Regions from separate parts of the Homo sapiens genome. Here region 2 is linked to region 1. Evidence: promoter capture Hi-C in 16 types of primary human blood cells and fetal thymus (Javierre and others, 2016). All regions are on one chromosome and are shown on one strand. The core of a region is centred on a gene start or on the middle of the fragment in contact, and the rest is flanking DNA. Distances in the headings are between cores, read along the strand shown. Region 1 holds the start of LINC01011 (long intergenic non-protein coding RNA 1011). Region 2 overlaps LOC124901245 (a long non-coding RNA gene).

Region 1 (6,524 bases), core at 1,225-3,724:
GACAGAGTCTTGCTCTGTAGCCCAGGCTGGAGTGCAGTGGCAAGATCTTAGCTCACTGCAACCTCCGCCTCCTGGGTTCAAGTGATTCTCCTGTGTCAGCCTCCTGAGTAGCTGCGATTACAGGCACCCATCACCACGCCTGGCTAATTTTTGTATTTTTAATAGAGACGGGGTCTCACCATGTTGGCCAGGCTGGTATCAAACTCCTGATCTCAGGTGATCCACCTGCCTCAGCCTCCCAAAGTGCTGGGATTACAGGCATGAGCCACCGCGCCCGGCCCATTTTCATTATTTTTAAACAAAGGCGAGCAATTCACTTTCTGGGTGCCCACCTGAAGTAGAGAATCCCAACCCCTTACCATGAAAACAGATAATCTGTTCACTGAGCCCCAAGGACAAAGCAGCCAGGGTCGACTGAGGGGCTACTGCAGCCTTCCTCTCTGACTCCTCCCACCTAACCATTCCCTCAATACCTCAATACACACACTCCTTTCTTTCCCAAGTCTATTGCCTCTTCCAAAAGCAATGTAAGATCCGCCCCAGAACAGTGGGGAGTTCTTATCCTTTCCGTTACCTAAGCAACCTGAGGGCAAAGACCTTTAGATCACCGGCAGTGCTGTTCTTTGGGTAACTTGATCTTTGCTTATCAGCTTTAATAACTTTATTATACGAAATACCCAGCCTTGATGAAGTATCGATGACTCACTAACTGTGGTGTAACTAATTGTTTCATTCATTCTACAAACTTTTTTTTTTTTTTTTGAGACAGAGTCTCACTCTGTTGCACAGGCTGGAGTGCAGTGGCGCGATCTCAGCTTACTGCAACTTCCACCTCCTAGGTTTGAGCGATTCTCCTGCCTCAGCCTCCTGAGTAGCTGGGATTACAGGCGCGTGCCACCACACCCGGCTATTTTTTGTATTTTTAGTAGAGACGAGGTTTCACCATGTTGGTCAGGCTGGTCTCAAACTCCTGACCTCGTGATCTGCCCACCTTGGCCTCACAAAGTGCTGGGATTACCGGCATGAGCCACCGCGCCTGGCCTCATTCTACAAACTTTTATTCTGCACTCACTATAGGCTGGGAGCTACACTAGGGCCTGGGGACATGAAGACAGGCGACACGGTCCCTGGGCTCAAGATGCCAGACAGATGTGCAAACAAGTGAAATCTGATGTGATATGTGCTTTAGTGGTGCCAAGGATAAAAGGATAAGTGTTAAGAAAAAGTAGCAACAATATGTCTGACTGGGAGAATCAAGAAAGGTGTCATAGAGTCCCTAACACTTGAGCTGAGAATGAGAAAGAGCATGAGCTGGCCAGGTGACACACAGAGCATATTCCAACCTAGGAGACTGGGAAATGGGCCAAAATATATACGTTTGAGGAAACAAATAGCTTACTATATAATTAAATATGAGGCAGTTTAGACTGGGCCCTTATGGATAAGTCACACCCATAAATTTTATTTCATCTTACAGGCAGTGGAGAGCCTCTGGAGGATTCTGAGCTTCGTGGTCTCATCATCAGAGTTATGTATGGCAACCATCCCAACCTTTTTGGCACCAGGGAGGGGTTTTGTGGAAAACTATTTTTCCTTGGACAGCAGAGGATGGTTTCGGGATGATTCAAGCACATGACACTTCTTGTGCACTTTATTTTCAGTGGGAGCCCTGAGCTTGTTTTCCTGCAACTATCTGGCCCCATGTGGGGGTGATGAAGACAACGGCAGATTATCAGGCATTAGATTCTCATAAGGAGCGCACATCCTAGATCCCTTATGTGTGCAGTTCACAGTAGGGTTTGTGCTCCTATAAGAATCTAATGCTGCCTGATCTGATAGGAGGCAGAGCTCTGGTGGTAATGCAAGCAATGGGGAGCAGCTGCACATACAGATAAAGCTTCACTAGCTCACCCACTGGTGGCTCACCTCTTGCTGTGTGTCCTGGTTCCTAACAGGCTACAGACCAGTCAGGTCTGTGGCCCGGGGGTTGGGAACTCCTGGTGTATGGAAGAGACTACTCTGCAGCAATGTGGACAAATAGGATGAGGGTGAGCTGTCAGGGGAGACAGGCACACATGGCAGAGCTATTTAAAAAGGAGGATAGATGACCAGGCACAGTGGCTCATGCCAGTAATCCCAGCACTTTGGGAGGCAGAGGCAGGCGGATCACGAGGTCAGCAGTTCAAGACCAGCCTGGCCAACATGGCAAAACCTCATCTCTGCTAAAAATACAAAAATTAGCTGGGCGTGGTGACATGCGCCTGTAATCCCAGCTACTCAGGAGGCTGAGGCAGGAGAATCACTTGAACCCGGGAGGCAAAGATTGCAGTGAGCCGAGATCGTGCCATTGCACTCTAGCCTGGGCAACACAGCAAGACTCTGACTGGAAAAAAAAAAAAAAAAAAAGGAGGATAGACAGGGCTTGGGGATTGGTGGATGGGTAGATAAGGAAGGAGGAGTCTAGCATGACTCTCAGACTACTGACTTGGACCAGCAGGGGAATGGCTGTGACAATAAATAAGATTGGGAAAACAAGAAGGTGAGCAAATTTAGAGGAGAAAATGAATTTCATTTTTGGCATGGTGTGGAAGGCTCGGGAGAGAGGTCTAGGCACCAGATGTCAACGTGAGGTGAAATGGATATAGCTGAAGTCAAGGGTGTGGTGAGGTTTTGCAGGGAGAGCAGGGACCTCCAGCAAGGCCAGTGCATAAGGGAGAATAGAGAAAAAAAGAACCAGAAAAAGACAAGGAGAGGCCAGAGAGGTGTGGAAAGAACCAGGGAAGACAGTTATTCACAACAAACAAAAGAGGGCAGAGTTTTAGAGAAGGAACTGAGCAGTTTGGGGCTCCAGGTGGGGCAGGAGTGGGTGGCCACGGTTGAGGGGCAGTGGCCTTCAAATTGGTCTGGGTAGGTTCTAATGGGTCAGATTGGTCAGTCCTTTCCAGGACACTGAAGGCTGCAGAGGTGTGACTGGATGCTGGTGGAGGGATGCATGGCGGGGAAGCTGAGTCAGATCCTGAAATCCTCCAAGCATGCGCCTGAAATGACCAAGGGAAATGAAGGCGGAGGCTGCTGTCGCCTGGTGGCCTGGGAAGGGCCAAGAGCCAGGGAGCTGGAGGGAGGAGAGAACGTGCGACCTCAGCACGGAGCACTGTAGGGGAGGCGGGGCTGGAGGGAGATGGCGCCGCGCTCCCGGATGAACAGAGAAAGCGACAGGGTGAGTCGCAGGGCACAGTGTGGGATGAGTCACCGACAGCAAGGCATGGACTCCGGGAAGAAGGGGAGACGAGCCGGGAAAGACTTGCATCGGGGATGTGAGCTGAGCTGCACCCAGACAAAAGCGGCTCGGGGCTCCTGAAAGCAGCAGGCACCGCCGGTCCTGCCAAGGGGCTACTTCCTGCGCGGAGTAGGAGAGTAGGAGACCCCAGGCCAGTCCCAATCCCCGGCCCGTCCGGGATGAGGGGGGCTGCGGGAGCTGCGGGGGCCTCCTCCAGGGAGGACGGTTGCAGGGTCCCTCGGCCGCCGCCCACTCCCGGGGGCGTTCCTTCCTCCCAGCTGCGCCCGGAGCGCCTGCTGCCTGGCGAGAGCCCGCCCCTCTGCAACCAGCCCGCTGCAGCGGAGGGCGCCTGGGTGCCCTCGGCCGAGCCAGCAGCCCACGGTCGGCGCCGCACTGTCCCCTGGTGGCGGAGCGCTCCCGCGACCCGGCTCGCCACGCCTGGGAGGGGTCCAGGAGGACGCGGCTGGGACCTGGGGGCTCTCAGGGTGGGGCCTTGGGGGATGAGGCTGGGGCCCGCGGGAAACCGGGCTGGGGCGAGGAGGCTCGCAGGACTTCCTGCCACAGAATGTTTCGATGCTTTTTTTAATTCTGCAAATGTAAGCCTTTCCACTTTAAGTCCAAGCTCAGCGCAGAGGACTGTTCTATAATACATACAATTTAGTTTAAAAATGTTGCAAATGTTAACATGTGTCACAAACTCAAGCAATCCAGTATTATAGAAAGCAAAGAATGAAATGTGCTGCTTCTTTCTCCCCCAGACGCCCTTGCATACATTAAGATATGTATATATGGAAATGTTACCGGGAGTCCCGGTTATCCCAAAAAGGGTTGTTTCCTGTTGCGTGGTGAGGCCAATGCACGAAACCGAAAGGGAGTGTGTCAAGCAGTGCAGGCTGTATTCAATGGCTATGGAATTGGAAGATCTGAAATCAACTTAGCTTGTGAGAGCTGGGAAGTTTCAGAGGTAGGGTGTCTTTAATGAAGGGGCTGGGCATTAAGAGCACGGGGGGGAATATTCGTGCTTTCCTTGGGAAAGAACGGAGATTTTTCCCGGAATCAAGAAACCCCTTTTTTTCTGTCCCTTCTTGGTCTCTTCCAGTCGTTGTCATGGCGACATGTTGTTTAGCATGAGAACAGGATGATGATAAAGCCAGAGGCTCTTCAGAGGCGCCATCTTGGATTTCGCCAGCTTCAGCTGGTTTCGTCCTAAGAAGGAACTTCGAAACACAGGCATTCTTTTTCCTGAAAATAAGCAGAGTTACAGCTGAGTAGGAATTTAGCTCTGTCCCATATGCTATCGCATTGGGCAGCAAAAGCAGGGTGGGGTCCAGCGAAATCAGCAGGCACTGCAATGAGTAACATACCCAGCCACGTTTATGCAGCATTTTTACGAAAATGAAACCATACTACCTGTAAAGGAAGATATGCTAACAAACAACAAAACTGGCAGGAACCAAGATTCCTACTGACACTACCCTTAGTTTTAATTTTCCCTGACAACAAATGAGGTTAACAGAGCATAATTATCTACCGTGACCCCTTCAAAAAGACAGGCTGTATACATTTGCACTAAGAGAAGAAATCGTGTAATGTCAGCAAATTTCCCCCACTTAAAGCTTCTCTATTTAAAAAGCTTCACGCACACATGCACGCATATGTCTTCAAGATGACCACAATTTATTTTGCAGTCATTCTTTGCACCAGTTCCCAATTTTTCCCACTAGCTTGCAAGCTCCGTGACTCGAGGAGACCGGGGGATCAGAGTTTGTTTTTGCGGAGAAGTGAGTCCTTTATGCCCCAAATAGTGACTGACATAGAGAAGGTACTCAGTAAACACTTTTTAAAGGAATGCCTGCCTGACTGAAGCTTAATGATGTGAGGCTTCTAGTGGGATACCCTACCTTGTTTTAACCTGAAGTGACTCTTCCTTAGCTAAGAGAGCCAGACGGACTCCATCGTGACTCCTTCACTCGCAGCCCCTTACCCACCCCCTTCCTCAAGGACTTAACTTGTGCAAGCTGACTCCCAGCACATCAAGAATGCAATTAACTGATAAGATACTGTGGCAAGCTATATCCGCAGTTCCCAGGAATTCGCCCGGTTAATAGCACCCAGAGCCCCTGCGTTTGTGTCCGGTTGATAACGCCCAAAGCCCGGCGTCCATCACCTTAGGATAGACTTAAAGCCTCTGCACCTGGAACTGTTTACTTTCCTGTAACCGTTTATCCTTTTAACTTTTTGCCTACTTTACTTCTGTAAGATTGTTTCAACTAGACTCCCCCTCTCCCCTGTCTAAACCAAAGTATAAAAGAAAATCTAGCTCCTTCTTCGGGGCCAAGAGAATTTCGAGCGCTAGCTGTCTCTCGGCTGCCGGCTAATAAAGGACTCCTGAATTCGTCTCAGAGTGTGGCGTTTCTCTGTAACTCGCTCGGTTACAACACTAGGTTAATCTTTTTCCTTTAACTGTTTGTTTAAAATATATTATGTTTAAGACCTTCTAACTGGTCAGCCTCCAAGATAGTATTGTGCTGGGCTTGCTTTATTCTGGTTTGGTTTCCATGATCCCAGTTCATGTGTTACCTGCTTCTCTTTTGAATTCACAATGATACACAACTTTTAATTTGTTAGAACACAAACATAAGGAATTTTTTTTTCCATTTTAATGTGAGATATGACAGAGGCAAATTGTTTCTTAAAGACATAAAATAATTAAAATAATTACATAAATTGTAATAAAATAATTATTACAATGTTCTATCTTTGGCATTAAGGCATAGAACAATTTTTTAATCCTAAACTAGGCTGGGCATGGTGGCTCACTCCTGTAATCCCAGCACTTTGGGAGGCTGAGGCTGGTGGATCACTTGAGGCCAGGAGTTGGAGACCAGCCTGGCCAACATGATGAAACCCTGTCTCTACTAAAAATACAATAAAAAATTTAGCCGGGTGTGATGGCGCTCACCTGTAGTCCCAGCTACTCAGGAAGCTGAGGCACCAGAATCGCTTGAACCCGGGACGCGGAGGTTGCAGTGAGCTGAGATATAGCGCCGCTGCTCTCCAGCCTGGGCAACAGAATGAGACCCTGTCTCAAAGTAAATTAAATAAATAAAATCCTAAACTGTAGGACCAAGATTTGATTCAGAAAAGAGACTTTCTTGTACTAATTTATACACTGTTCATGTCAGATCCAATCTTTCTTTTTATTAGATGAATCTGGAAAAGCAACTTAGAATAATTCAATCAGTCT
Region 2 (6,787 bases), core at 2,257-4,756, 1.0 Mb after region 1:
TCCTCCTTCCCTCTGTCTCCTTTCCCCACATGGCTATATCTTTCTTACTTCCTTTCTTTCCTGCCTAGCATACATGGCAGACACAGATGAAAGCAACAAATCTACTTCATGAGCTACAAAGAATGCAAAAATGACCAGAGAAAAATAACCTGCTTTAATTATTATCATTTTATTACTTCCCATTTATGATAGAGCTCCTTGAATCAACTAATTTTACTAAATTACAAATATAAAATAAACATGTTTTATCATAACCATCACAACTGAAGACATAATGCATTTGTAACAGTTAATGACTTATCCATGAATTTTTCTCCTTTGGAAGCCTGAAGTGGCAAAGAAAGATATACTAAATCTAGTTTCTTCTTTTTTTTTTTTTAAGTATGGATTCCAGCATTGAAAGTAATCTAGTGAAAAATGACCTCCCTAATTTTGCATCAATAGCCAAATCTAAATGGAATTTGAGACAACAAATTTAAAAATGTCTGTTATGCTCAATTATGCTCAACGTGCTGTTGAACACATTGCTGGAGATTACTGTGTCATTTGTGGGCACATGTTTCTACAGGACTTAAATCATTTTTGTAGAGGTGAATAAAATCCAGAAACTTGGATATTTTTAAAAAGTATTTGTCAGCCAGGCGCGGTGGCTCATGCCTGTAATCTCAGCACTTTGGGAGGCCCAGGTGGGCGGATTGCTTAAGTCCAGTAGTTCAAGACCAGCCTGGGCAACATGGTGAAATGCCATCTCTGCAATAAAATACAAAAATTTGCTGGGTGTGGTGGCACAAGGCTGTAGTTCCAGCTCCTCGGGAGGCTGGGGCGGGAAGATCTCTGAGCCCAACAGGCGGAGGTTGCAGTGAGCTGAGATCATGCCACTGCATTCCAGTTTGGGCAACAGAGTGAGACTCTGCCTCAAATTAAAAAAAAAAAAAGTATTTGTCAAACATCATTGAACAAAAGTTACAACAAAAGAGTTATTAATCAGCAAACTCCTTTAAAATTTACACTTCCAATGCATTCTTCATATTATAGTTACCTATACCTTCTTCATTTTATAGTTAAGACAGTTTACAACAAACTTATCTAGTGATTGTAGACAAGAGGCTTGAGAATATACATTAAGAACAAAAGGAATGAAAACAGAGAAGGGTTTCCAAGTGATGCAAAAAATGAACTGTGCTAGACAAATATAAATGTCCAGATCCCACTTCAAGAAAGGATTTGCTGCCCAGCTGCAAAGATGGAGTTAGCTGCCAGCAACTTCAGTGTCTGCTTCAGCTGCAGAAAGCTACCTTGCTCAGGGCAGCCCACATCAGGCCACTGAGTAAGGAGTGGGTTGAAAAGCATGGCCACTTCTACAAGATATGGGATAACTCTGACAAACAATACGAACCCCAGAGAGACATCTGTGGGCCAGCATCACAGCTCTACTTCTTGCTCTCCCCAATCCTACTTCTTCACTTCTCCTTTTAAAGGTGATGATCCCTGAAAATAATCTTATATTCCAAACTCAGTGTCTGTTTATGGAAAACCTAACCTGTGACAGTGGTCCATTTTATATTACTAAGTAGGAAAAGGAAGCTCTAAAATAGTATGTGTCATATAAAGTGGTCCCAGTTTTAAAAAAATGAACATTGACATACACATAGGAAAAAGTATTAAACAATTTTACACTAAATTTTAACTGTAGTTAACACTGGAAGAGTAGGATCATGGGGAAGTTTCTCCTACTTTATACCTTTGGAAAAGACAGAGGCATAGTTAGATGTAGACAACCTGAGTTTCAATTTTCAGGTATAGATATTAACTCCATGAATATGTATTCACTTGGGATAGGTTAAATTATGCTGTGGTAACACACTTTCCCTAAAACAACAAACGCTTATTTCTCATTGGTGTTTTGGTCTATGTTCTACATTTCTTCATTCTGATATCCTGGCTGATAGAGAATGTCCATCTGCCAGTCTCATGGCAGAAGGAACAGGTAACACAGTGAGCATGTGCTGCCTCATAAAACTTCTGCTCAGAAATGCCACACAGAATTTCCACTCATGTATCGGTTCCTTAAATCAAGTTACATGATGTTGCCTGAATTCAAGTAAACAGGAATGAATAATCCTCCTGTAGGGAAGAGCACAGAATACAGTCGAAAAGTAACACAATCAACCACAGAATTTAAACAAATTACTCATCACACCTATTTCTTAATCTGTTAAGTGCAGATAACAGTACGATCTCAGCTGGTGAAAAGGAATGGAGAATACAGCCATCCTTTGGTATCTGTAAGAGATTGGTTCCAGGACCTCCCAAGAATACCAAAATTTGCAGATACCCAAATCCTTGGATGCTCAAATCTCTGATATAAAATGGCATAGTATGTGCATATAACCTATGCACATCCTCCAGTATATTTTAAATAATCTCTAGATTACTTATAATACCTAATACAGTATAAATGCTATGTAAATAGTTATACTGTATTGTTTAAGGAATGACAAGAAAAGAAGTATGTACATGTTCAGTACAGATGCCATTTTCCCCCCAGATATTTTAGAGCCACAGTTGGTTGAATCCACAAATCTGGAACCCAGGGAAACAGAAGGCTGACTATACTTACAAGCATTTATCCCACTGGATGATATGTAATAAGCACCAAGTGTTTATTACTATACATATTTTTACTTTAAAATTTTTATGAGTATGTGTTACTTTTATAATTTATTCTGCAAGTATTTACCAAGCATCTCTGTATCAAGCACCTTTCAAGGCTGTGCAAACAAAAGAGATGAAATCTCTGCCATCCACTGAAGGCAGGATAGATAGAGGCAGGCAGACAATCTGAACAAAATGAGCTTTCCAGGAAGGTGCAAAACTGGAGGCAGAGATACCTGGCAACACTGAGCACTGAAATCTCCTTTCTTTTGCCTGATTGCATTTATATGAAAGGTCCAGAACAGGCAAATCTGTAGAGACAGAAAGTAGATTAGTGGCTGCCTAGGGCTGGGTGGGCGGATGGGAACAAAGGGGTTGGGAGCAGATGGGGAGTGAATGACTGCTCATGAGTCCAGAGTTGCTTTTTGAAGTAATAAAAATATGCTAAAATTGATCATGGTGATTGTTACACAACTCTGTGAATATACTAAAAACCACTGAATTAAAAGTAAAGGCAGTAATTAAAATTCTAGGGGTTTTTTTTTTTTTTTTTTTTGAGGCAGAGTCTTGCTCTGTCTCCCAGGCTGGAGTGCAGTGGCGCAATCTTGGCTCACTGCAAGCTCCGCCCCCCCAGGGTTCACGCCATTCCCCTGCCTCAGCCTCCCGAGTAGCTGGGAATACGGGCGCCCACCACCACGCCCGGCTGATTTTTTGTATTTTTAGTAAAGACGGGGTTTCGCCGTGTTAGCCAGGATGGTCTCGATCCCCTGACCTCGTGATCTGCCTGCCTCGGCCTCCCAAAGTGCTGGGATTACAGGGGTGAGCCAGCGCACCCGGCCAGGTTTTTTTTTTTTTTTTTTTTTTTTTTTTTTTTTTTTTTACTTTTTACAGTTAAAGTCTTTTTATAAAATAAAGTATATTTTCTATGACTTAGTATCACTAGTTTTTTAAAGTATATTTTCTATGACTTAGTATCACTAGTTTTTTATAACTATCAAACTTGACCTTGAAAGAAAATTTGGTATCTACTTAATAGCTAAAAGTTATGAAAAAAGTAAACATTACCAAGTTAGATTTATCCAAGGAATACAAGGATAGGCTTAGTATGAGAAAAATCTATAAATCTGACCCATTATAATAACAGATAGAGAAAAATCATAATTATTCTAATAAATGCAGAGAAAGCATTTGATAAAATTCAACATTAAATTCATAATAAAAGGTCTTAGAAAAAATAAAAGAGATTTCCATAGAGCGTATCTAAGTAACCTACAGTAAACATCATCCTAAATGAAAAGATAATAAAAGCATTCCGATTTACAAATCAAAAAATAAATAATACTAAATTAAAGGTTCTAATAGCACATGAAATAATAAACTGAATTCAAAATGATGCAGAAGAATAAACAAATCTAACTTTATTTTTAGATATGATCATTTTTGTAGAAAACCAAAAAAAGTACAATTTATTAGAAATAAGAGAATTTAAGGTGAATATAAGATTATTGTCAAATACATTTCTTTATACCAATGACAAATACCTGAAAATGTAATTAAAAAGAAGACAGCATTTTCAATAATCTTAGAGAATACCAAGTACCTAGGAGTAAATATAATAACAAATATGTAAGATCTCTAAGTAAAAACTACAAAAAGACATTAGGAGACATTAAATAAAGACCTGAATAAATGGAGAAATATACCATGTTTGTGCATAAGAAGATTCAATATTGTAATTAGTTGACCTATAGATTTAACAAAATTACAATCAAAATTCCAACAGATCTTTTTCTTGCATCATGTAAAGCTAATTCTTTAAAAAAGCATGAACAATAAGGATTTTTTTTAAAGTCAGGAAATTTCTGAAGACACTAGAGGAAGCTGCCCTATCAGACATAAAGACTTACTGTGAAGCTGTGGTAATTAAGGCATAATAAAACAAATTGGACAAATTAACTGAATTAAATAGGAAACTACAACAGACCCACACATTTATGGGACTTTGGCTATGCCAGAAGAAACACATGATATTGATGGGAAAATTAGGAACTATTCAATAAGTGGAGGTGGAAAAAATGATTATGCATGTAGTTAAAGGCGAAAATTAGAGTTCTGTATCATACAAGATATAAGATCCAAATCCAAATGTATTAAAAACTATAATGTCAAAAACAAAACTTAAATTCTCTTAGTAGAAAGCACACATGAAAATATTTTAGATTAATGGAAGAATTTTAAAAATTTAAACAATACAAAAAAAGCACTAACTATAAAATACAAATGATATACATTGACTTTTAAAATTAAAAAATTTTTGGCTGGGAGTGGTGGCTCACGCCCGCAATCTCAGCACTTTGGGAGGCCACGGGGGCGGATCACAAGGTCAGGAGTTTGAGACCAGCCTGGCAAACATGGTGAAATCCCGTCTCTACTAAAAATACAAAAAATTAGCCGGGCATGGTGGCCCATGCCTGTAATCCTAGCTACTCGGGAGGCTGAGGCAGGAGAATTGCTTGAACCCAGGAGGCATAGGTTGCAGTGAGGCAAGATCACGCCATTGCACTCCAGCCTGGGTGACAGAGCAAAGCTCTGTCTCAGGAAAAAAAAAAAAAAAAAAATTAAAAATTTTTTGTTCATCAAAATGTATTTTCAGGCCAGGCGTGCTGGCTCATGCTTGTAATCCCAACACTCTGGGAGGCCGAGGCGGCTGGATCACCTGAGGTCAGGAGTTTGAGACCACCCTGGCCAACATGGTGAAATCCCATCTCTACTAAAAATACAAAAATTAGCCAGGCATGGTGGCAGGCCTCTGTAATCCCAGCTACTCAGGAGGCTGAGGCAGGAGAATTGCCTGAACCTGGGAGGCAGAGGTTGCAGTGAGCCAAAATCGCGCCACTGCACTCCAGCCTGGGCAACGTAGCCAGGATCTGTCTCGGGGGACAGGGAAATAAATTTAACAGTGTATATTTAATTGGTTTGATAAATTGTACGAGCAAATAATTGGTCAGTACATAGATATATATGTTAGTTAACTAAAAATACTAAGTAGTTACAGAAAGTAATGACCTATATTTTCCTTTATGAGACTCTTTTTAATAAGAGTTTAACTTAAATAAATACAATACACCTAAGGCTAGTATAGGGTGGTTTTTCTAGCTCCACCTTTTAACTGTTCTTAGCCTCTTCAGGACACAAATTTTATTTTGTTTATTAAAACCATGTGAAGTGGCATTGTTACTATCCCTTGCCCTCCTTTTTATAAAAAATTGAGGAAGAAACTGAGGCTCAGAAAGACTGAGTAGTCTTTCTAGACCACGAAGCTAGTTAAGTTATGGTTCCAGGATTTAAAGCCTGACAACTGACCCCAGGATCAACATTTAATCACTAGGCTATCACTGTGATGTGAGATAATCTATGTACTAAAAAGCCATATCAGACCATATAAAAGACAGGCTAGACAGTAAGTAAACTTGTAACCATGCCCTCTGTTTGCCCTTACTCTGAGAAGATTTCTATTAAGTTTGCAATATGAGGCAATCTCTGCTATGACTTCATGATAAGGAAAAAATCATGCTGGTCCTTTGCTGCCCTCTTATGGAAGATGTACATAGATATACAAAAAATTCCCAGCCAATAACTGCAGTCTAACTTTGCCACCATAACTAAACTATTTCAGGTGTACCTAGCTTTACATGATAGATAAGATTCTAGAACAATGCAACTGGTACATAAAAGGTACTCAGTGAACGTGCAGAACTGCAATGAAAACTTTCTGTCTCTTTGATATGCACTAAGCGCTTGATCTTATAAAAATCCTATGATAAATTATTTAAATGGCAAATCGCCCTCCAATTTAATTGTTGTGGTATACAGATTTATATATATCATATTTATTTAACATTATAAAATGTTATCATGTGGCCAATTTATTCACAATAAAGGTATGAATAAAATAATAATCTAAAAATGTCAGTTTAATCACTTGTTTCAAGCAACTTTGTCTCTTTTTAAGGCCAAAATCTAACAAATAATCTAAGTGAATGGTTTGAGTTTCTTCTAATTTCTTGCTCTTTATTTAATCTCTGTTTGTTGTGACCATGATTTCTCTTAGAAGAGACTAAGTGTCTTGAAC

Evidence for each region. The method cuts DNA at HindIII sites, captures the fragments that hold promoters and counts their contacts. A CHiCAGO score of 5 or more calls a contact.
Region 2: a contact is called between a fragment that was not itself captured here and the fragment with the promoter of LINC01011 in region 1, in 2 of 17 cell types (naive CD4 T cells and total CD8 T cells). The highest score is 7.0, in naive CD4 T cells.

Annotation. Positions count from the first base shown.
Region 1 is chr6:2,985,493-2,992,016 of GRCh38, forward strand. LINC01011 (long intergenic non-protein coding RNA 1011) reads left to right here and starts at 2,475. Exons shown (of 3, transcript NR_026856.1): 1 at 2,475-2,539; 2 at 4,036-4,241; 3 at 4,377-5,679. NQO2-AS1 (NQO2 antisense RNA 1) reads right to left here. Exons shown (of 2, transcript NR_186367.1): 2 at 3,844-4,519. RefSeq lists enhancers at 2,417-3,226, 3,227-4,036, 4,037-4,846, 4,410-4,569, 4,847-5,654 and a silencer at 3,420-3,839. The HindIII fragment of the contact is 2,996 bases long and covers 1,896-4,891 here.
Region 2 is chr6:4,002,352-4,009,138 of GRCh38, forward strand. It overlaps LOC124901245 (a long non-coding RNA gene), which reads right to left. Exons shown (of 2, transcript XR_007059415.1): 2 at 151-6,787. Among named protein-coding and RNA genes, the nearest start is that of PRP4K, 16 kb to the right of the region's middle. The HindIII fragment of the contact is 9,050 bases long and covers 1-6,787 here.